3 separate regions of the Homo sapiens genome follow, and all the other regions are linked to region 1. Evidence: promoter capture Hi-C in 16 types of primary human blood cells and fetal thymus (Javierre and others, 2016). All regions are on one chromosome and are shown on one strand. The core of a region is centred on a gene start or on the middle of the fragment in contact, and the rest is flanking DNA. Distances in the headings are between cores, read along the strand shown. Region 1 holds the start of ATP9B (ATPase phospholipid transporting 9B (putative)). Region 2 has its middle 14 kb from the start of RBFA. Region 3 overlaps RBFA (ribosome binding factor A).

What was found. The method cuts DNA at HindIII sites, captures the fragments that hold promoters and counts their contacts. A CHiCAGO score of 5 or more calls a contact.
Region 2: a fragment that was not itself captured here is called in contact with the fragment with the promoter of ATP9B in region 1 in 1 of 17 cell types (total B cells); the score reaches 5.2 in total B cells.
Region 3: a contact is called between a fragment that was not itself captured here and the fragment with the promoter of ATP9B in region 1, in 1 of 17 cell types (neutrophils). The highest score is 5.6, in neutrophils.

Annotation. Positions count from the first base shown.
Region 1 is chr18:79,065,997-79,070,807 of GRCh38, reverse strand. It overlaps ATP9B (ATPase phospholipid transporting 9B (putative)), which reads right to left and starts at 1,414. Exons shown (of 30, transcript NM_198531.5): 1 at 1,279-1,414. The coding sequence starts at 1,397. The HindIII fragment of the contact is 22,095 bases long and covers 1-4,811 here.
Region 2 is chr18:80,018,267-80,023,312 of GRCh38, reverse strand. It overlaps a transcript of TXNL4A not described here. Among named protein-coding and RNA genes, the nearest start is that of RBFA, 14 kb to the left of the region's middle. The HindIII fragment of the contact is 171 bases long and covers 2,805-2,975 here.
Region 3 is chr18:80,044,973-80,048,675 of GRCh38, reverse strand. RBFA (ribosome binding factor A) reads right to left here. Exons shown (of 7, transcript NM_024805.3): 7 at 1-2,902. The coding sequence ends at 2,521. Among named protein-coding and RNA genes, the nearest start is that of RBFA, 12 kb to the right of the region's middle. RefSeq lists an enhancer at 1-138. The HindIII fragment of the contact is 8,122 bases long and covers 1-3,703 here.

The DNA.
Region 1 (4,811 bases), core at 165-2,664:
TCAATATCTAATAAAGATTTTAGAGCAAAGAAAATTACCAGAGACAGAGGAACATTAACAATGAAAGGAACAATCCACCGAGATGACAAAAAATCTTGAATGTGCGTGCACCACATGACAGTGCTTCAAAGTACATGAGGCAAAAATGGATTCAATCTGTGATGGAAACCTATTTTGAAACAGGTGGCACATTTCCAACTAAAGAACTCCTAAAATTAAACAGATTTACTAACACAATTACTGTTATAGGTAACACCAGAACCCACTTCCAACCAAGCACTGAAAAAAGGGCACCTTACACATGTTCTACTGTAATCTCCAATAATCCCGTAAGAAAAAATATTATCCAGCATTTTACAGATGAGGAAACCATGGCTTGAGTTTAAATAAGTTACCCGAGAGTAAATCGCTAGTGGGTAAACACTCAAATCAGCGTTATAACATTCCAGTATGTACTTTGAGCTATATGTTAGTCTCTCAAATGGCCGAAAACAAAAATTATTCAAAAACTCAAATTCTGAAGCAACTACATATTGAGTGAAATTATGTTTTCGACAATTCCTCTGGAATAAAACTTCAAAAACTATAAGAAGCAACACTTTTTAAAATTTTCTTTTCTTTGAATGAGAAATGTTAAATATGAGCTAAATGCAATCTCGAGTATGAAAGGTCTGTACACTAATTCTACTGCTAACCTGTGACCCCACTAAACAAGTTAACCGTTCTCAATACCCCATTTCCCTTTCGTAAAAGCAAAATTACTTGTCGACAAAAAGCACTTTGTATATATATGTTTAAACAAAAAGTGTGCCTAGCAAAGATATCGAAATGTCGAAGAGAAGTCATTTCAATAAGAAGTGTGTTTTTAACAAAGCAATTAAAAGTTACATCCGTCACCTTCACAATTCACAGGGCTACAAGAACAAGTTTCGGAGACTCTGAAGTATCCGAGAAGTTAGCACTTTTGATCCCCGTTTACTTTAGGAGAGCAGCCACCCCTCAACACTGGACCGCGGTTCTCTGCTCCCGTTCTGGCTCCTACGCTCGGCCCAGGCGTCCCGGGGATGCAGCCGCTCGCCCCGGCAGCTGCCCGCGGCCCTCACCACCGGCGGACGCCACAGCTGCGGCGCGCTCAGAACGCCAAGGACTCCCGGCTCCCAGCGAACAGATGGGGCGCGCCGGTAGCGACCCCAGACCCGCCCGGCTCCGGGTTCCTGCGGTGGGCTGGGGGCCCCGGGGAGCGTCGGCGGGGAACGGGGCCAGTGCCGCCTCGGTTACCTGCTGTGCCGGTCGGCTCCCGGCCTGGGCCCCGCGGCGCTGTAGTAGGCCGCGCGTTTGCGGTTGGCTGCGGCCGCCGCTGCGCTACGCACCGGGTAAAGCGGGATCTGGTCCGCCATGTTCCGACCGCCCCTTTCCCGCCCCTCCCACTTTCCCCTCAATTCGCCACCTTTTCCCCGCCCTCTCCCCTCAGCGCCAACCCCGGCTGAGGCGCCGCCTGCGGGCCTTCCCCGCCTCCGCCAAGCGGCGAGGTCCGATGACGTAACGAGCGGCGGCGCGGAAGGTGTGGCGTCCCTAGGCCCCGCCCTCGTTTGGCGTCGGCGCACGATGACGTGCCCAGGGTGGCAAAAGCGCGGCGCAGGAGGCAGTGGAGTCCGGGCAATGACGTCACGAGTGGCTAAAGCTGGGACGGGGGGCGTCGCGTTCCGAGGCCCCGCCCCCGCCTCGTGACGGGCCCGATGACGTCACCGATCGGCGGGGCGGGGCGCGCGTGCGCCACAGGCTGGCCTTCCGGTAGCGCGCGAGGGCCTGCACGTGGGTCGTGGTTCGACCCGGCGCGCTCTGGTCCGCGGGTGGAAGGGCCTCGCAGCCGTCTCCTGGAAGCTCTGCCGGGGACACGCGTGGGCGCGCGCGGCCTCCTTAGCGGTCCAGAGCCTGCGCTGCCAGTAGTACGCGCGCCCCATGGCTGTGTGGGGCCCCACGCGCCCTCCTCGCCGCGCGGCTTCTTGCTTCCGCCCCGCGCTTCTCCAGCCTGCCTTCGGTGCCCGCTTCCTGCCCGCGCCCTTGGAACCGCTGGTGTCTGTGCGTTCACAGGCAGGGTCGTGCTACGTGGCCCGGGCCCCCAAAGCGCCGCGACTGCAGGCGCGCCCACCGCGCCGGGCTGAATTTCCGAGATGTTCTTGTCCTGCTTCCTCACTGCTGCTTCCTTCTTTCTCTGGTTCTGGGTCTTTAGCTTGATTCCACATCCCCCACCTCTAGGCCCACAGCCTGCTGAAAAGTCCTATAGGCGACTGTCAGAAACGAGGTTTACACCCTCAGTCTACACAAGAAAGCAAAACGATATTGAATAAACGAATACACGGCTTTGGTTGGGTTTGTTTCATTTCCTGTCCCGAGGACAGCTCCCTTCCACCTCCATCACCCGCTGCAGCTGGAAGCCGGCAAGCTGATGCACCGCTCACCTCACGTATTAATGGTTTACTCACTTTGTGTTTTTTTAAACAATGTTTTTCTGATATTCCATTTTCATGACATATAAATTTTGTCTATGTGTTTGAAACACTGTTCAACATGAACTTATAAATGCTTTTCTTTTCTGTTTTTTGGAGATGGGGTCTCTGTTACCCAGGCTGGAGTGTAATGTTTTGATCACGGCTCACTACATCTTCCACCTCTCAAGGTTCAGGTGATCTTCCCCCATCTGCATGTATTACTTTTTCATTATAAAAAATGGTCTTTATGAATATGAATATTCTTAATTTGTTGCTGCCACTCTGATTGCCAGTTTGCTTCTCAGCTGCTTTTCATGTAACCTGAATACATGCCACTCCACAGACACTAACTACTTTCAAAAGACGCCAATGGCCTCCTAATTGACAATGGCCTCACCCATTATTTCTCTACCTCACTCTCAGCCGCTGACACTGTTCACACCATCTCTCACCCACATTCAACAACTGATATTGATAACACCATCTCATTCTCACAGCACTGGCACTGTAACACCATCTCCTCACCCTCACTCAGTACCTGACAGTGATAACGCCGTCTCCTCACCCTCACTCAACTACTGACAGTGACAACAGCATCTTCTCACCCTCACTCAACTACTGACAGTGACAACACCATCTGACCCTCAGTCAACACCTGACAGTGACAACATCTTCTGACCCTCACTCAGCAACTGAAAGTGACAACAACATTTCTTCACCCTCACTCAACAACTGACAATGACAACACCTTCTCCTGACCCTCAACTACTGACAGGGACAACACCGTCTTCTCACCCTCACTCAATAACTGACAGCAACAACACCATCTCCTGACCCTCACTCAACTACTGACAGTAACACCATCATCTCCTGACCCTCACTCAACATCTGACAGTGACAGACCATCTCCTCTCTCTCACTCAACACCTGACAGTGATAACACCTTCTCCTCACCCTCACTCAACTTCCAACAGTGACAACAGCATCTCCTCACTGTCAGTCAACTACTGATAGTGACAACACCATCTCCTCACCCTCACTCAACACCTGAGAGTGACAACAGCATCTCCTCAGCCTCAGTCAACAACTGACAGTGTACCCTCACTCAACAACTGACAGTGACAACACCATCTCCTGACCCTCACTCAACTACTGACAGTGACAACACCGTCTCCTGTCTCCTTACCCTCACTCAACAACTGACAGTGACACCATCTCCTCACCCTCACTCAACACCTGACAGTGACAACAGCATCTCCTTACCCTCACTCAACACCTGAAAGTGACAACAGCATCTCAGCCTCATTCAAGAACTGACAGTGACAACATCTCCTCACCCTCACTCAACACCTGACAGTGACAACAGCATCTCCTCACCCTCACTCAACACCTGACAGTGACAACAGCATCTCCTCAGCCTCATTCAAGAACTGACAGTGACAACACCATCTCCTCAGCCTCACTCAACAGCTGACAGTGACAACATCATCTATACCCTCACTCAACACCTGACAGTGACAACAATATCTCCTCACCCTCTCTCAAGAACTGACAGTGGCAACACCATCTCCTCACCCTCACTCAACTACTGACAGTGACAACACCATCTCCTCACCCTCACTCAACACCTGACAGTGACACCACCATCTCCTCACCCTCACTCAAGAACTGACAGTGACATCACCATCTCCTCAGCCTCACTCAACTACTGACAGTGACAACACCATCTCCTGACCCTCACTCAGCTACTGACAGTGACAACACCATCTCCTCACCCTCATTCAACAACTGACAGTGACACCATCTCCTCACCCTCACTCAACACCTGACAGTAACAACAGCATCTCCTCACCCTCACTCAACACCTGACAGTGACAACAGCATCTCCTCACCCTCACTCAAGAACTGACAGTGACAACACCATCTCCTCAGCCTCACTCAACTGACAGTGACAACATCATCTACACCCTCACTCAACACCTGACAGTGATACCATCTCCTCACCCTCACTCAACACCTGACTGTGACAACAGCATCTCCTCACCCTCACTCAACTACTGACAGTGACAACACCATCTCCTCACCCTCACTCAACTACTGACAGTGACAACACCATCTCCTCACCCTCACTCAACAACTGACAGTGACACCATCTCCTCACCCTTAGTCAACACCTGACAGTGACAACAGCATCTCCTCACCCTCACTCAACACCTGACAGTGACAACAGCATCCCCTCACCCTCACTCAAGAACTGACAGTGACAACACTATCTCCTCAGCCTCACTCAACAACTGACAGTGACATCATCATCTACACCCT
Region 2 (5,046 bases), core at 1,641-4,140, 950 kb before region 1:
CTATCAGTGATCAGGCAACATGTCCTATTTGTAAACAAAAAAACTCCACTTTCAACAGCCAGGAGGAAGCTATCCTAATAAAACAGGTCTTAGCTTCAATACTGTCCCCATCAAAGGAAGGGCAGCCATTCAATTCTTATGTTCTTTTAAGGCACCTGTTCTGCATTCAATGACAATGGGATTTAAAGAAAAAAAAGAATTTTGTGTTTGAAAGTTAATCAGTCCCATTCTGTGGGATTCCAATTTTTCACTGGGGCCATAGCAGGGGAAGCCAAATATGGTATTAAAACACCCTCCATTAAAGAGTCTTGCCCAAGTCCAACTACTACATAATCTCTCCCAGGCCTATTGGGTACCTTGGGAGCCTTTAGGCTGAGTGGGTCTAAGAATCCAACAGGGTGGAAAGCTAGGGTCTTGCACAGGTAAGTGTGACTAGTCCTGCATACTACCTCCTCTGGATCCATGAGTAAAGGTCACACTTGTATCCATGGGGTGGCACCTATAATGGTTGCCAGGACCCAGAGAAGAGAAGGAAAGAGGAGAAGGGCAAAAGGGCAACACCTTTTCTCTCTTTCCTTCCACCCTTGGTCACGCCAAAGCAAGGAAGGGGACTAAGGAACACCTTGTCTCCCACTCTCTAGATGGGTAACAAACCATCTGCATTCTGTACTTCCCTTGAGTGCATTCTAAATCACTGGAACTCCTTTAACCCTACGACTCTAAAGAGAAAGTGGCGTATATTCTATTACACAAGGGCGTGGCCTTATTACCATCTTGGGAACAAACAAACCTGGCCTGAGGAAAGTCTTGATTTCTATACTATTCAACAACTAAAACTTTTCTGTAGGCAAAAGGGCAAATAGTCCAAGGTTCCCAGTGTACAGGTTTTCTTTGCCTTGCAAGATAACCTAAATCTTTGTAAGCATTGTACAGTTAACCCCACCCTTTTGGCAGCCACGTCAGGCAAGCCTGCAAAGGATGGTTCCCCAGAGTCAAGAAAAAAACCCTTGGGGAACCCTCGAAAAAAACTTCCGGGTGTCCTACCTGCCCCACAATAGCCAGATCATTAGCTCCTCTGGTAGTGCCCCTCAAGAAATTCCCAACTTCACTGTTGCCCCTGCAGGAAATGCCCAATGGTGCTACTAGGGCTCAAGTTTCCTGCTCATTGCAGGACCTTAAACAAATAAAGGGGGACCTGGGCAGGTTCTCTAATAACCCTAATAAATATATAGAGGCTTTCCAAAATTTAATCCAAGTGTTTAATCTAACTTAAAAGATGCTATGCTACTTCTAAGCCAAACCCTATTGCAAAAAAAAAAGGTATTCTAGCCCATATGGGAGCCACCATCCTTATGGCTCCAGAACAAACTCTTTGTCCTCCCCTTATTAAAAACCAATGTTAACCCAGAGGTGTGGACAAGTCACGGGAAAATTGGCCAGGCTACAACTGTTATACTGGTCCAAATTCACCTTAAAAATTCCACCTTCTTCCGTAACCAAAAGCAGTACCCGCTAAAGCCAAAAGCTGAAAAACAGAACAAAAACCTAAAAGCCATTATGAATAAATTAAAAGCACAAAACCTTCTCAAGCATTGCAACACCCCAATATTAGGGGTACAGAAACCCAGTGGGAAATGCAGGCTAGTTCAGAACCTCCATCTTGTTAATAAAGCTATAGTTCCAATCCATCCAGTGGTTCCTAATCCGTATACTTTGCTAACTCAAATACCTGAGGGAACTAAATGATTCAGTTTTAAACCTAACAAGTGCCTTTTTCTGCATACCATTGCACCCTAACTCCCAATACTTGTTTGCTTTAAGAAAGTCCCTCCAACCAGCCAGGGGCAGTGGCTCATGCCTGTAATCCCAGCACTTTGGGAGGCCGAGGGGGGCAGATCACGAGGTCAGGAGATCAAGACCATCCTGGCTAACACAGTGAAACCCCGTCTCCACTAAAAAATACAAAAAATTAGCCAGGCATGGTGGCGGGTGCCCATAGTCCCAGCTACTCGGGAGGCTGAGGCAGGAGAATGGCATGAACCTGGGAGGTGGAGCTTGCAGTGAGCTGAGATCATGGCACTGTAGTCCAGCCTGGGCAACAGAGCAAGACTCCATCTCAAAAAAAAAAAAGATCCCTCCAACCAGGCTAACTAGTTAACCTGTACAGTGCTGCCTCAGGGAGTCCAAAACAGTGCCCACCTGTTTGGGCAAGCATTATCAAAAAATCTCTCTGAGTTTTCTCATCCTCAGGTTAAAGTTTTACAATATGTATATAATATTATCCTCTGTGCCCCAACTGAGGGGGTTTCTCAAGAAGGCACTAACGCTCTTTATTTTCTAGCAGGTAGAGGATATAAAGTTTCCAAATCTAATGCTCAGCTCTGTCAAACTTCAGTGAGGTACCTTGGTCTAGTCTTGTCAGAAAGAACCAAAACATTAGGTGAGAAGATAATTAAGACTATTTCCCCATTTCTCCTCCCTGGAACACTCAAACAGCTAAGAGGATTTTTGGGCATTACAGGTTTTTGTAAATTGTAAATACCTGGGTACAGTAAAATGGCTTGCCCTTTATACTGCCTTATAAAATAAACTCAATCAGCTATAAACTCACTCCCTAACTTAAAAACCTGAGGCTCAGAAGGCCTTTAATCAGCTAAAGCCTGACTTAAAGCACCTACGCTCAGTCTTCCCATAGGGAAGGCGTTTAATCTTTATGTCTCAAAAAGAAAGGGAATAGCCTTGGGAGTTTTAACTTAGGCTCAAGGTCCACCCCAGCAGCCATTTGGTTACCTAAGCAAAAAGCTTAACTTGGTGGCTAAAAAATGGCCAGCTTGCCTCTGAGCAGTTGCAGTTGCATGGTTGAGTTAGCCATGAGGAATAAGTTAACTGTTTACACACCCCATAATGTAGCAGCACTGCTATCCTCTAAAGGAAGTCTGTGGCTAACAGGTAATCACCTCCTCAAATATCAAGCTTTGCTGCTGGAAAAACCTGCAGTTCAGTTAAAGACCTGTCCTGGCCTGAACCCAGCCACTTTCCTCCCAGAGGAAACTGGAGAACCTGAACAGGAGTGTAAACAAATGGTGGTGCAAATCTATGCAGCCAAAAAAACCTCAAGGAAATAGGAGGAGGAAGTCACATCTTACGTGGATGGTGGTGGGCAAAGAGAGAGCCTGTGCTGGCAAACTCCCGTTTTTAAAGCCATCAGATTTCCTGAGACTCATTCACTATCATGAGAACAGTGCAGGAAAGACCCGCCCCCACAATTCAATCACCTTTCACCGGGTTCCTCCCACAACACAAGGGAATTGTGGGAGTTACAATTCAAGATGAGATTTGGGTGGGGACACAGCCAAACCATATCACTATCTTGGGGTTCCCTCTGCTGGCTTTACCTTTAACCATTAAAAATGGATATAAATAAAGCATGGTATGGGAGCATTTTTAACGCTACGCAAAAAAACACACACCCTGAGGGTAAGACTTACTCCTTTAGACTAGGTAAAGTTAATAAGATAGCAAATGCCTTCTTCTGCTTTAAAAGCAGAGGAAAAGAACCATACTTGGGAAACCTTTAAATATTCCAAAAGTATGCTCATAATTGCTAAGAGTACAGAGATCTGGAGACTAAGAAGGAACAAGGGTGACACCAAACTGGGAGAGACTATAGAAAAATTTTAATCTAGCCAGACCTCCTAGGTGGAATTCCCAATGGGAATAGCTATCCCTGGGCAGAAATGCCACCCCTTGCCAACCTTATTATCAGGTAATAAATAACACATGGTCCTTGATATGGTTTGGCTGTGTCCCCACCAAAATCTCAACTTGAATTTTATCTCCCAGAATTCCCATGTGTTGTGGGAGGGACCCAGGGGGAGGTACTTGAATCATGGGAACCAGTCTTTCCTGTGCTGTTCTCATGATAAATTCTCTTGAGACCTGATGGGTTTATCAGGGGTTTTTGCTTTTGCTTCTTCCTCATTTTCTCTTGCTGCCACCATGTAAGAAGTGCCTTTCACCTCCCACCATGATTTTGAGACCTCCCCAGCCATTTGGAAATAAGTCCAATTAAACCTTTTCTTGTTCCTAGTTTCAGGTATGTCTTTATCAGCAGCATGAAAACAAACTAATGCAGTACATTGGTACCAGTAGAGTCGGGTGTTGCTGAGAAGATATCCGAAAATGCAGAAGTGACTTTGGAACTAGGTAACAGGCAGAGATTGGAAAAGTTTGAAGGGCTCAAGAGAAGACAGGAAAGTGTAGGAAAGTTTGGAACTTCCTAGAGGCTTGTTGAATGGCTTTGTCCAACATTTTGATAGCGATATGGACAATAAAATTCTAGCTGAGGTAATTTCAGATGAAGATGAGGAATTTGTTGGGAACTGGAGCAAAGGTGACTCTTGTTTTGTTTTAGCAAAGATACTGGTGGCATTTTGCCCCTGCCCTAGAGAACTGTGGAACTTTTAACTCGAGAGAGATGATTTAGGGTATCTGGCAGAAGAAATTTCTAAGCAAAGCATTCAAAAAGTGACGGGTGCTGTTAAAAGCATTTTGTTTCAAGGAATTTATCCATTTCTTCTAGATTTTCTAGTTTATTTGCGTAGAGGTGTTTGTAGTATTCTCTGATGGTAGTTTGTATTTCTGTGGGATCGGTGATGATATCCCCTTTATCATTTTTATTGCGTCTTTTTGATTCTTCTCTCTTTTTTTCTTTATTAGTCTTGCTAGCAGTCTATCAATTTTGTTGATCCTTTCAAAAAACCAGCTCCTGGATTCATTAATTTTTTGAAGGGTTTTTTTGGTCTCTATTTCCTTCAGTTCTGCTCTGATTTTAGTTATTTCTTGCCTTCTGCTAGCTTTTGAATGTGTTTGCTCTTGCTTTTCTAGTTCTTTTAATTGCGATGTTAGCGTGTCAATTTTGGATCTTTCGTGCTTTCTCTTGTGGGCATTTAGTGCTATAAATTTCCCTCTACACACTGCTTTGAATGTGTCCCAGAGATTCTGGTATGTTGTGTCTTTGTTCTCGTTGGTTTCAAAGAACATGTG
Region 3 (3,703 bases), core at 1-2,500, 980 kb before region 1:
TGCTATGGATGCCAACACCACATCCGGCACAGGCGTGGAGGTCTGGGCAGCAGCCTGGGGCTCTCTGGGCCTAACTCTACCTTCCATTCCCTCTGCCCACTCCTTCTTGTCCCTTCTGGTCTCTGTCCTCATGGCTCTAGACACTAGTCCCTGTCAGATGTGCTAGAAGGACCTGAGACAAATTGATGGCAGCAATCTGTTTTGTAACAATAAATTGCTAGAACAATAAAACACAGCCTGGGCACATCAGATGCATGCAAAGGTGTGTATGCAAAGGACACACCATTGAGGGCGTTCTCTCCTTCTTTAACACCTTTCCCAAGTTAGGGGGCGGGGGGCAGGTTAACACAAAGCACTCAGAGCAGTGCCTGACCTGCGAAGCACTCCTGCATGGCAGACTCTGTCTTTACTCTGCTGTGGCCCCCTCCAGCGCTGGTGCAAGCACTGGCCCTGTTCCCAGCCCGGCAGTGCTGTGGAGGTACCTGCAAAGCTGGCGTTCTGCTGTTTTCTCATGGAGTCATCATGGTCAAGTACCAGAGCCTTGTAACCTGAAGTTATCTTGCTAGGGAAATACAAAAACGTTTTTTAGGATGTTGCGCTCGTAAATCATCACCATTCATTTCCTACATCAGGATGGGGAGGTCTCTTGTACATAAATGAATTCACATAGCCATGTTCCAGTAACACCAGATACAAAAGGCCTTGGCCTGACCTCAGCCCATGATGGTCCCCTAGAAGAATAAGAGGCAAACTGGTTGTTGTAAGCCAGGGAGATTTGCCATTTGTCACTGCAGTATCACCTCATTATCCTGACCTATATGATTAACCACAGACATGTACACCCCTTCACTGGACACCCCGCAACTGGCTACCAGAAACCCTAGAGATAAACATTTGGCTCACGGTGTAACAGAGGCATCAGCCTTTATGTGTGGTGTACACTTTGTAACCTAATTTCTGGCTCCCTTTTTTTTTTCTCTCTCCTACTCATACCATCATGTGGGGTTTTGTCTATCCTTACAAATTGCCTTAAATTCTTTCTTCTTAGTTTAACTGGCCTGAGGTAGTGGCCTCCCCATCCTGATATAGGAAATAAGAGTGTAGAGTATAAACAAATAATTTCCTAGATCTCAAAAGAAAAATCTTGCTTCTGCCATTTGATGACTTATACACAGCTTAGTCCCAGAGCACAAATGAAAAGAAAAACAAGGGAGTCAGCATCTTGCAGCAGCATCTCCTACTGTCCTTACCCCACACAGTGCACATGCAGCTTTCTGGGTAGTGGCCTCATCACTCGCCCACAGCCGCTGTCTGCAGCACGTGGCCTGGATCCAGTGGTCAGCACGGCAGGCCGCTCAGTGCTACGGGTCTGCTATCCCTTGGACACTTCTCCTTTTTGGGGAGGAGGTGGCAGGGCACAGCAACTAAAGCCACTGCTGCTTCCACAGATTCTACTCCTGCACCGTGGGCACCTGTCATGTGCAAATGCTGGGACAGATGCCTTCCCTGTGCCGTCTTGATTCTCACAGCCCTGCTGCACTGGCAGAGAGCCAGGGCTTGGAGGGATGACACTGACTCGTAGTGCAGAACCTGACAGAATTGAGAGAATTCTGAATTTAGAACCTGACAGCTCACAGGGGCTGGGACATTAAGAGGGAAGCCGAACTAAATAGGAGCTGACAAGGTATGGAATCTGTGTTTTCTCTTCTGATAAACAGCAAAACGAATCTTTGCGTCGGAGGTGACACAAAGAATTCAGTATGACTCAGAGTCGCACACTCTTCAGAAGGCAAAGACCAAGTCTGTTTCACCTTTGGATGGATTAGAAAATACACTAGCTGGCCACGGGCACCAAGGGAAAAGTGTTACTACTTCAGGCGTGATGGAACCACGGTCAGAGCCGGGGTCGCCCAGGAAGCCCCAGCAAACCCAACTCACTTTCTGCCCAACCTTGGCCTGAACCAGAAGGTGGAGCCTGCTGCACAAAGCTGTGAAGAGGCCAGTCAGGGACGGAGCCCCCGGCGCCACGTGCCGACCCAGCAGCCCCAGGGATGGAGCCCCCGGCGCCACGTGCCAGCCCAGCAGCCCCAGGGACGGAGCCCAGCTCCAGGGGGTTGGGAGGCTCTGGGGACCCTCTGTTCTCCCCAGGTTTGCAGGTTCAGTTCTTACCCCGGCCACTGCTGTGGCCTGACCCCTCGGGCCAAGCACTCACTGGCACCTGGCAGGGCTCTGCAGGTGGAGGTGGCCATGCCAGCATCTCAGAGACACTATTTTACCATTTTCTTTTTGTGAGAATCTGTGATAAGATGGCCATTTAATTTTTAAATTACACACAGTGCATGGAAAAAAAAACAGTGACTTGTGTAGCAAATTGTGTTTAGATACACGGAAAAGCTAGAAAATGTTGAAGTAGCAGAAGAGCAGATGGTTTAACTCCATCAACTGCCTCAATGAAGCCACATGCTGCGTTGCGTGCCAATGCTTTTCCCTGCAAATGTGGGATGGGCAGAGCCTCTCCATCTACTCCCTGCTTGCTCCGCAGCTGTGGCCATCCTCTGTTCTGCCACCTCCTCTCTCTGCCTCCAACTCCTCTGTGTCCGGGGCATAGCATTCGTACTCCGGGGCACCAACCAGGTCCAGGTCATCTTCAACCTCCTCGCCTGACAGGTAACTCTTGAGGGAGCTGTCCTGCTCCAGGCGGGGCTTGGCCCTCTTCCTTCCCTTTTTCATCTGCGTTGTCAGCTCAGCCACCTGCCCCTGCCACACCAGGCCCCCGAGCCCTTTATCTTTCCTCCTTTTGTACTCCATAATCTGCTTGTTGAGCGCCTCATGATCGATCCCACACAGACTGGAGCTTGTGGTCGGCTCTGTGGTGCCGCAGGGTTGTGGGGCATCAGGGTCCCTGGGAAGGAAGAAGAGGCTTCACACCAAGCACAAACCATGCCCCTAGTCCACAGTGTCGTCGCCACAACACAACAGCACATCACACTTCCTACATCTACTCGCCTGAGAACCCTCCCAAACGTCTATCTGAGGGTAACTGGAGACAGGAGTGAAGGAAGGTGGGCTTTGGTTTCCGCCTTCTCCAGTGTCAGAAGCATTCGGCCAGCACAGTCCAGGTGCACCGTCCTGTATGCAATAAATGCATTTGCGCCGGGCACGGTGGCTCACATCTGTAATCCCAGCACTGTGCGAGGCTGAGGCGGGCGGATCACGAGGTCAGGAGTGCAAGACCAGCCTGGCCAACATGGTGAAACCCTGTCTCTACTAAAAATACAAAAATTAGCTGGGCGTGGTGGCGCTCGCCTGTAATCCCAGCTACGCAGGAGGCTGAGGCAGGAGGATCGCCTGAACCCAAGAGGCAGACATTGCAGTGAGCCAAGATCACGCCGCTGCACTCTAACCTGGGCGACAGAGTGAGACTCTGCCTCAAAAAAAAAAAAAAAAGCGTTTGCAACTTTTTTCTCTAAGCATGGCCAGTGCCTCGGGCCAGTTCAACTGGCAGAATCGCAGGTGAGGCCTATCAGACCTGCCACTCATTCGCCTTCATGAAGAGTCTATTCTTGGTGAACAGCACCTAGTCAAGGCCACGTCACAGCCCCTGTATCCTCCAAGGCTCCACTTTGGAAAGTTTCCACACCCTGGGCTCAGCTCCCTGCCCTGCCGCCCCCACACTGCCCCTTGCTGACACGGTCAGGCCAGG